Regions from separate parts of the Homo sapiens genome. Here region 1 is linked to region 2. Evidence: promoter capture Hi-C in human tissues and cell types (Jung and others, 2019). All regions are on one chromosome and are shown on one strand. The core of a region is centred on a gene start or on the middle of the fragment in contact, and the rest is flanking DNA. Distances in the headings are between cores, read along the strand shown. Region 1 overlaps KDM2A (lysine demethylase 2A). Region 2 holds the start of AIP (AHR interacting HSP90 co-chaperone).

Region 1 (5,309 bases), core at 2,151-4,650, 340 kb before region 2:
AGAGTGAGCTAATCTAGACTTCAGTAGTAGATAGAAACATTAGAGAACACTTTCCTGAGAGAGGCTTTGAAGTTGAGACCTAAAGGGTGACTAGGAGGTAACCAGGCAAAGATGCAGAGTGATTAGCACATGCAGAAACTCTTAAGGTTGGAAAGAATTTGACATGTTTGAGAAACCTGCCAACCAGCTAAGCCAACCAACTAAACAAAACACCAAAAAAGCCATTGTAACTGAAGAAACATAAGTGAAGGAGAGAGTTAAAATTCTTGACAAGGTAGACAGGTCAGATCAAATAGGGCATTATCCTGAAGCCATTGGGAAGGCAGAAGTTCAGCAGAGTAGTAATGCGTTTGGACCAATGTCAGTGGTTGCAATGTAGAGAAAGGGTCAGGGAGAGGGCAAGAATAGATTTAGGGAGATTAATTAGGAGGCTATTATATTGGTTCAGGTAAGACAATGATGTGGTATGGTTGAGTGCTGACAGAACTAGAGAGGAGATTGATTCTATGATTGAGATTCTATGATTGATTCTATGAGAACTATATATGAAATAGAATCATGGGACTTTTCATTGAATGTTTTGAGGGTCAGTGTAAAGGAGGTAAATATAAGTATGACTCCCAAGTTTTCCTAGTGCATGGCTTATAATACAGTTCTTTTATTGAAATAGGGTACACTGAAGGAAGAGCAGGTTTGGGGACTGAGCAAAGGAGCATAAGTTCAGTTTTGAGAAAACTTGAAAAGGTTAAATGAGAAGTGCTTGTGAAATATCACAGTAGAACTGTTGAGTAGGTAATTGGGTATGATTCTGGGTCTAAGGAAGGACTTACTGGCATATGATTGGGTCTTTTTTTGAGAAGGGGTCTCAGCTCTGTCGCCCAGGCTGGAGTGCAGTGGTGCGATCTCGGCTCACTGCAACCTCTGCCTCCCAGGTTCAAGTGATTCTTCTGCCTCAGCCTCCTGAGTAGCTGGGACTGCAGGCATGTACCACCATGCCCGGCTAATTTTTTGTATTTTAGTAGAGACGGGGTTTCACCATGTTGGCCAGGATAATCTCTATCTCCTGACCTTGTGATTCGCCTGCCTCAGCCTCCCAAAGTGCTGGGATTACAGGCGTGAACCACCGCGCCTGGCCAAACTATAGTATTATTATAGGACCACCGTCACATATACAGTTGTTGAGTGAAATGCCGTTAAGTGGCACAAGTCTGTATTTGACCGTGAGTCTCTTTTTACCTAGTAAGAGTAGACTTCTGTAAGTCAAGGAATATGCTTTATTCAGGTGCTCAAAACTTGTCTATTGAATTGAACAAAAATGTGTTATGTAGTCCTAAAAATACATAAAATGTAGAGAACACAGTAAGTGAATTTCAACAATGAAAAGAACCTTAGATTGCTAATCAGGTTGCATAGGTTAGTTATCTAGCTTTATTTTATTCACCTACAAGGTTCTTAGTTCTAATAATTTAAACCAGTTGTTTTCAAAGTGTGCTCCCCAGACCACATTACCTGGGAACTAGTTAGAAAGGGAATTCTTGGGCTGGGCACGGTGGCTCACACCTGTAATCCCAGCACTTTGGGAGGCTGAGGTGGGCAGATCAGCAGAGGTCAGGAGTTCGAGACCAGCCTGACCAACATGGCAAAATCCCATGTCTACCAAAAACACAAAAATTAACCAGGTGTGGTGGTGTGCACCTGTAATCCAACCTACTAGGGAAGCTGAGGCAGAAGAATTGCTTGAACCTGGGAGGTGGAGGTTACAGCGAGCCAAGATTGTGCCACTACATTCTTGGATCCTACCCCAAACGTACTGAATCAGAAAGTCTGGCAGTGGGGACTCAACAGCCTGTGTTTCAACTAGTTCTCCAGGTGATTCTGATAGATGGTAAAGTTTGAGAACCATTGGAATTGTTGTAGCAGTTTTTCTGTTTGTTGGAAACAAAAAATTAACTAGAGGTAGTTACCTTAATTTCACACTTCACAGCTTAAAGTTATTTTAAAATCGTTTCTTCATATTTCCTGCCAGTTGAATTTGCTGACATTTTTCTAAACCACTAATGGTATCTTAGGCACAGTATCCTTGAATCACAGGCAGTAGTATTAAGTTTCTGAAGACTGCTTCTCCCCCCACCATGCTCCTTAAGTCTTATTTAAATAACCTTCAGTGAGTACAGAAGGGGCCCATTACTACGCCCTTCCTGGTGACACCAGTTAACCAAGCCAGGGCAAGTAAGTGTACCCTGCAGCCCTGCCAGCCAAAGATTGCTACTTTTTTTTTTTTTCCTTTTTTCTTTTTTCTTTTGAGACGGAGTCTCGCTTTGTCCCCCAGGCTGGAGTGCAGTGGCATGATCTCAGCTCATTGCAACCTCCGCCTCCCAGGTTCAAATGATTCTCCTGCCTGAGCCTCCCAAGTAGCTGGGATTACAGGCACCCACCACCACGCCCAGCACATTTTTGTATTTTTGGTAGAGATGGGTTTTCTCCGTGTTGGCCAGGCTGGTCTTGAACTCCTGACCTCTGGTGATTCGCCCACCTCGGCCCCCCAAAGTGCTAGGATTACAGGCGTGAGCCACTGCACCCAGCCTCTTTTTGTTTTTTAGAGATGGATCTGTCTACGTTGGTTGCCCAGGCTGGTCTTGAACTCCTAGGCTCAAGTGATCCTTCTGCCTCAGCCTCTCAAAGTACTAGTATTACAGGCATGAGCCACCACGACTGGCCCAAAGGTTGCAAGGTTGCTGCTGCTATTTTTTTTTTTAATTTATTTTTTGAGACAGAGTCTCGCTCTGTCACTCAGTCTGGAGTGCGCTGGCACGATCTTGGCTCACTGCAACCTTTGCCTCCCGGGTTCAAGTGATTCTTCTGCCTCAGGTCCTGAGTAGCTGGGATTAGAGGCATGTGCTACCATGCCTGGCTATTTTTGTATTTTTTTAGTAGAGTCCGGGTTTCACTGTGTTGCACTGGCTGGTCTCCTGACCTCAACTGATGTGTGCATCTTGGCCTTCCACAGTGTTGGAACTATAGGCGTGAGCCACCGCACCTGGCCTACTCCTGTGTTCTTAGCTTGAGTTCCTGGTTGATGGGTGGTGCCACCAATTGAGAGAGAATACCATGGTTTGTGGATTGGGTACGGTGGCTTACACCTATAATCCCAACACTTTGGGAGGCTAAGGCAGGAGGAGTTCAAGGCTTGAGCTCAGGAGTTGGAGACTAACCTGGGCAACATGGCGAAATCCCGTCTCTCCAAAAAATACAAAAATTAGCTGGCTGTCATGGCGTGTACCTCTAGTCCCAGGTAATTGGGAGGCTGAGGTGGAAGGATCACTTGAGCCTGGAAGGTCAAGGCTGCAGTGAGCTTTGATTACGCCACTGCACTCCATCCTGGGTGACAGAGTGAGATCTTGTCTCAAAAAAAAAATATCATGGTTTTATACAAAGAATATAGGTCGGAAGACCACCCTGAGCAACATAGCAAGACTGTCTCAAGAAAACCTTAAAAGAAGTTACAAGTAGGCCTGGTGCGATGGTTCACTCCTGTAATCCCAGCACTTTGGGAGGTGGAAGCGGGTGGATCACCTGAGGTCAGGAGTTTGAGACCAGCCTGGCCAACATGGTGAAACCCTGCCTCTACTAAAAATACAAAAAATTAGCCAGGCGTTGTGGCAGGCGCCTGTAATCCCAGCTACTTGGGAGGCTGGAGCAGGAGAGTTGCTTGAACCCGTGAGGCGGAGGTTGCAGTGAGCCAAGATTGTGCCATTGCACTCCAGCCTGGCAAAAAGAGTGAAACTTTGTCTCAAAAAAAAAAAGTTACAAGTATACTTTTGATTTATTTATATTAACCTTTCTGTCTCTAGTAGCATATTTAATTCACCAGTTATTTATTGGGTCTACTTTATGAAGAACCTTACCAGAGATTCTGGGTTAACGTCATGAGGTATCACCATAGATTTGGATCACTTTTTATTAGGTAGAACTAGTTTAAAAAACGCTATATTTTAATTACTGCATGGATTACTTAATTTTTCTCCAGACCTCTTACCTCATGCTTGCTCAAGTCAAAGGTTGATAAATACTACTCATTTAGCTTTGTGGGCACTTTCTCAGTTTATCCCCCTCTCTTTGGAGTGTCACTCCACGTTGTCTCATCGATGAAAATATTAGGAACTCTCCTAAACATTGTATTTTGGGGAACACAAGCATCTGAAGATACCCATCCATTTACTTCTGTCCCTTATTATTTAACCATTTCTTCATATGCGAAACAATTTTTCCATATTGTTTTGGGGGTACATGTGATACTTTATTAGATGCATAGATTGTAATGACCAAGTCAGAGTATTTGGGGCATCTTATCACCTTGAATATTTAATAGGAACATTTCAGGTCCTCCTCTCAAGCTATTTTGAAATATACAATTCATTGTTATTGGCCGGGCGCGGTGGCTCACGCCTGTAATCCCAGCACTTTGGGAGGCCAAGGCGGGCGGATCATGAGGTCAGAAGATCGAGACCATCCTGGCTAACATGGTGAAACCCCGTCTCTACTAAAAAATACAAAAAATAAGCCAGGTGTGGTGGCAGGTACCTGTAGTCCCAGCTGCTCGGGAGGCTAAGGCAGGAGAATGGCGTGAACCCGGGAGGCAGAGCTTGCAGTGAGCTGAGATCGTGCCACTGTATTCCAGCCTGGGCGACAGAATGAGACTCGTTCCAAAAAAAAAAAAAAAAAATATATATATATATATATATATATAAAATTCATTGTTACTAATTATAGTCACCCTACTTACGATTGAGCTTCAGAACTTATTCCTTCTAACTGTATGTTCATGCCCATTAACCATCCTCTCTTTATGCACCCCTTTGCCCCTCATACACACCCTTCCCAGCCTCTGGTGTCCATCATTCTGTTCTCTGTTTATGAGATCAGCTTTTTAGTTCTTTAATATTTGAGTGAGAACACGTGATACTTCTCTTTCTGTGCCTGGTTTATTTCATGTTATTTAATATTCTCCAATTCCATCCATGTTCCGAAAATGACAGAATTTCATTCTTTTTTATGGATGAATGGTATTTCTTTCATTCATTCATTCATTCATTTTTGAGACGGAGTCTTGCTGTGTCGTCCAGGCTGGAGTGCAGTGGCACGATCTCCGCTCACTGCAACCTCCACTTCCCAGGTTCAAATGATTCTCCTGGCTCAGCCTCCTGAGTAATGGTTTACAGGTGTGCATCACCACGCCCGGCTAATTTCTGCATTTTTAGTAGAGGTGGGGTTTGACCATGTTGGTCAGGCTGGTCTCAAACTCTTGACCT
Region 2 (5,139 bases), core at 1,985-4,484:
GGAGTGCAGTGGTGAGATCATAGCTCACTGCAGCCTCGATCTCCTGGGCTCAAGGGATCATCCTGCCTCAGCCTCTTTAGTAGCTGGGACTACAGGCATGTGCCACTATGCCCAGCTAATTTTCTTTCTTTTTTTCTTTTTGTAAAGACTGGGTCTTGCTATCTTGCCCAAGTTGTTACTCATGGGCTCAAGCTATCCTCCTGCCTCAGCCTCCCAAAGTGCTGGGATTCTAGGCAGGACTTCTAACACTTACTGATCAGCATCATTCCTAGAGAGCATCATTGCCTTGTTCCTGATCTTGAAGAAATTGTGGATACTTATTCCATCATACTTAATTGTATGCAGCTTTTATCAACCTGAGAAAATTCCTCTTTGTTCCTAACTGTGAGTTTTTATCATAAATAGTCACAGAAGTTCATAAAATGCTTTTTCTGCATATTTTGAGATAACCATATGCATTTTCTCCTTTAGTTAACCGACGTGGTGAATTACAGTAATAGATGTTTATAATGTTGAACCATTCTTACATTCTTGGAATAAACTCTACTTGATCTTCATGCATTTTCTTTGGAAAAAAAATTCTTTTTTTTTTTTTTGAGACAGTCTCGATCTGTCATCAGGCTGGAGTGCAGTGGTGTGATCTCGGCTCACTGTAACCTCCACCTCCTGGGTTCAAGCGATTCTCCTGCCTCAGTCTCCCTGAGTAGCTGGGATTACAGGCGCCTGCCACCACGCCTGGCTAATTTTTATATTTTTAGTAGAGACGGGGTTTCACCATGTTGGTCAGGCTGGTCTTGATCTCTTGACCTCGTGATCTGCCCGCCTCGGCCTCCCAAAGTGCTGGGATTACAGGCGTGAGCCACCGTGCCAGCCCGGAAAAAAAAATTATTCTTTTTTTTTTTTGGAATGAAGTTTCGCTCTTGTTGCCCAGGCTGGAGTGCAATGGTGCAATCTCGGCTCACTGCAACCTCTGCCTCCCGGGTTCAAGCGATTCTCCTGCCTCAGCCTCCTGAGTAGCTGGGATTATAGGTGCCCGCCACCACGCCTGGCCAATTTTTGTATATTTAGTAGAGACGGGGTTTCACCATGTTGACCAGGCTGGTCTTGAACTTCTGACCTGAGGTGATCCACCTGCCTCAGCCTCCCAAAGAGCCGGGATTACAGGCGTGAGCCACCACGCCCGGCAAAAAAATTATTCTTAATTGTGGTAAAATACACATAACATAACATAAAATTTACCATCTCAACCGTTTTGAAGTGTATACTCAGTGGCGTTAAGTATATGCACACTGTTATGCAACCAATTTCCAGAACAGTTTCGTCTTTCAAAACAGAAATTCTACACTCATCAAAGAACAAGTCTCCATTTCCCACCCCCCTGCCCCCAGCCCTTGGCAATCACCATTCTGCTGTCATTTTTTTTTTTTTTTGAGATGGAGTCTTGCTCTGTCGCCCAGGCTGGAGTGCAGTGGCGCGATCTTGGTTCAATGCAACTTCTGCCTCCTGGGTTCAAGCGATTCTCCTGCCTTAGCCTCCCGAGTAGCTGGGATTACAGGCACGTGCCACCATACCCAGCTAATTTTTGTATTTTTCGTAGAGATGGGGTTTCTCCATGTTGGCCAGGCTGGTCTCAAACTCCTGACCTCAGGTGATCTGCCTGCCTTGGCCTCCAAAAGTGCTGGGATTACAGGTGTGAGCCACCGCGCCCGGCCCTGCTTTCTGTCTTTGTGAATCTGACTACTCTAGGTACCTTACATAAGTAGAATAATACAGTATTTTCCTGTATGTGACTGGTACTGTTATTTCACTTAGCATATTGATGCTTTTTTTTTTTTTTTGAGATGGGGTCTCACTCTATCACCCAGGCTGGAGTGCAGTGGTGCGATCTTGGCTCACTACAACCTCCATCTCCTGGGCTCAAGCAATCCTCCAGCCTCAGCCTGCTGAGTAGCTGGGACCACAGGCGTGCACCACCACACCACCTAATTTTTTGTATTTTTGGTGAAGATGGTATTTTGCCATGTTGTCCAGGCTGGTCTTGAACTTGTGAGCTCAAGGAGATCCAGGAGATCCACTTGCCTTGGCCTCCCAAAGTGCTGGTATTAGAGGCATAAGCCACCACACCTGCCCCATACTGATGCATTTTTACATGACATTAGTGAATTCAATTAGCCTAGTATTTTATTTAGAATGTTTCATATCAGCTGGGCGCTGTGGCTCACGCCTGTAATCCCAGCACTTTGGGAGGCCGAGGTGGGCGGATCACGAGGTCCGGAGATTGAGACCATCCTGGCTAACACGGTGAAACCCTGTCTCTACTAAAAATACAAAAAATTAGCCGGGCATGGTGGCGGGCGCCTGTAGTCCCAGCTGCTCGGGAGGCTGAGGCAGGAGAATGGCGTGAACCCGGGAGGCAGAGCTTGCAGTGAGCTGAAATTGTGCCACTGCACTCCAGCGTGGGTGACAGAGCGAGACTCCGTCTCAAAAAAAGAAAAACAAAAGTTGTTTTAGCCCCAAAGTACCTCATTTCTCTTTTCTTTTAATTTAATTTTTTTTTTTTGTTTTGTTTTGAGACAGCATCTCGCTCTGTCGGCTAGCCTGGAGTGCAGTGGCACGAACACGGCCCACTGCAGCCTCGAACTCCTGGGCTCAAGCGATCCTCTCGCCTCGGCCTCCCAAAGTGGTGGGGTTACAGGGCCACCGCGCCCGGCGCTAAAGTACCTCATTTCTATCATTCATCGATTATTCCCTAATATTAATTGGGCACAACTATGACTCATTTCCGACCCCGCAATGGGCTCTCTTGGTCTCCTTCTCCACCTTTCTTTCCCTCTTCCTCTTTTTATTTTTTGAAAGAGGAAGATCCAGGATGCAAGAGTCCCGACAATCATACTAGATATGCGAAAGAGAAAAAGCCGGAAGAAAATACACAAAAATCATAACACTTTGAGGGTGTGGCTTACGGGTGTTTTTTTTTTTTTTCATTTTCCTAACTCTGCAGTGCTGTTATATTCCATCCACAACTTCAAACAAAGTGCCACACGGCCGCAGTCCCAATCAATTCAATGACAATTGTTAGGGACGTCCTCGTCCCGCCCGGCCCGCGGACCCCGGCCCTTCCTCCTTGACAGGCTGGGGTCCAGCCCCGAGACATTCCTAGGCTCCGCCCCCGAGCAGACGCGCGCGCTCAGCCCCAGCGCAGAGAACCAATCACCATCCGTTTCCACGCTCAGTCCCTTTTGGCTTCTGCCCTCAACCAAAATGGCGCTAGCTCGGAAGCTGCCGAGGTGCTAGGAGTTGCCGAAGCAAGTCCGGAAGCTACCGAGCGAGTCCGGAAGTTGCCGAAAGGGAGCAGCGGGGAAGGAGGATGGCGGATATCATCGCAAGACTCCGGGAGGACGGGATCCAAAAACGTGTGATACAGGAAGGCCGAGGAGAGCTCCCGGACTTTCAAGATGGGACCAAGGTTCGTGTCTACCCTACCCTTCTCCCCCTCTGCGGCGTGGTGCGCATGCGAGGCGGGAGGAGGCCTTAGGCGAGAGGTTGCGCATGCCCAGAGGGCAGCGTCCACTGCCCCTACCGCTCACATGCAGAACTCGACGCTGATTGGGCTGAATTTAAGTAGGGGGTGAATTCGGGCCTGTCTGCCCCGCCCCCTGGCTCGGCCTTGTAGCAGCATTGGTGGGGGAGGCCGTCAGTCATCACAAGCGGGTTGGGGTTGGGGGTTGATCTCAGTGCTTGGGCAGACCCCACGCTGGAGGAAACCCAGGGCCGGGAGTGGTCCTCGGGTATCTGGGTTTCAAGGCTCATGATCCTTTGTAGATGGAAGGGCCTTCTGAAAACACTTAGACCAACTGCCGCTGTTTAGAGTGGAAAACCAAGACCCTGGGACGTGCAAAGCCGGAGAACGGGCCCAGAGGTCAGGTCTCCCAGACAGGGACTCTTTAGCAGCCTTCCTGCTGCACTAGGGGCTTGTTGGGACAGATGAGGGTTGGGAAGTAAAGAACCTCCCACTTTTCTCCTTTTTGCCAGGCCCCCAGATCCAGCCCCTCTGCCCGCTTCTCCCCCAACCTACAACTCCAGGCTTCCCTGCTTCTCCTGTAGTTGCCTCCTCCCGGAGTGCTTTTCCCAGCTGCCACTTGTTTGCAGAGTAGGGAACCTCCCAGGGGCAGCCCCTGTGCCCAGCAGAGCAGTCAGGCAGGACATGCACATTGAGCAAATGAGCACATGCCCCCTGGCCAGCACCGTGCCGAATCGGGCAGCTAAGCATCCTAGCCCAGTGCAGTATAAGTGCCCTGAGAGCAGAGGGGAGCTGCATGGCTGGAGTGATCCGCTGTATGAAAAGATATCTTCTCTAAGAAGAGACAGGATGTGTGGTGTGGGTTCATGCCCCCATGTGCTGGGGGGTTGGTGGCGTTGGAAGAAGGGGCTGGCAAGGGGGATCCTGGATGGAACAGACATCAGAAGGAGAGATGTGAACAATGGCACCCCAAGATCAGAAACAGGTGGTGTTAAATAACCAATCGCCAGCACTGATTGAGTGCTCACTATTCGAACATTGTGCTACATGCTTCACACGTTTATTTCCTACAATGTGAGATAGGTACTGTTGTTGATTCCGTTTTACCGATGTGGAAACTGACTTCAGAGATGCAGCATGGTGCGGCAGTTAAGAGCGTGGGCTCCTCTAACCATATCCTGTCGAGAGTTCAATCTCCAAACCTCTTTTCTCTGCACCCACCCCCAGTGTTATCTCTAAAAACTCTCCCTGCCCGGATTACTCCCAGATGCAGCTCTCCAGTCATTAACTGTCTCTTAAACCTGATATATAGCTCCCTACTCACCATATCCACCTGGAAGCCTGGTTGGCAACTCACACTTAACCTGCTCCACCTGAGGCTTCTCCGTGTCAGGGGAACCAACAACCTTCCCGTTGTTCAGGGCAAAAACCTTAGCATCTCTGTGGTCCTCCCAGTCTCACATCCAACATCACATCCTCAATATCCAGCCAGGATCTGAGTTCTCACCACTTCTGCCATCACTGCTTGGGTCCAGGCCATCCTCATCTCCAGCCTGGGTTACTGCAGCGACCTCTAACTCTCCTGCCTCTTTTGTCCCTCTGTGGTCTGTTCTCGTCCC

The links. The method cuts DNA at HindIII sites, captures the fragments that hold promoters and counts their contacts. A contact is called where the count stands out against the background at its distance.
Region 1: a fragment that was not itself captured here is called in contact with the fragment with the promoter of AIP in region 2 in 1 of the 25 tissues and cell types used here (liver).

What each region holds. Positions count from the first base shown.
Region 1 is chr11:67,136,961-67,142,269 of GRCh38, forward strand. All of the region lies in intron 2 of KDM2A (lysine demethylase 2A), which reads left to right. The region is part of intron 1 of LOC124902695 (a long non-coding RNA gene); the gene reads left to right. Among named protein-coding and RNA genes, the nearest start is that of KDM2A, 20 kb to the left of the region's middle. The HindIII fragment of the contact is 5,702 bases long and covers 550-5,309 here.
Region 2 is chr11:67,479,792-67,484,930 of GRCh38, forward strand. AIP (AHR interacting HSP90 co-chaperone) reads left to right here and starts at 3,235. Exons shown (of 6, transcript NM_003977.4): 1 at 3,235-3,466. The coding sequence starts at 3,368. RefSeq lists an enhancer at 3,077-3,136. The HindIII fragment of the contact is 17,225 bases long and covers 2,737-5,139 here.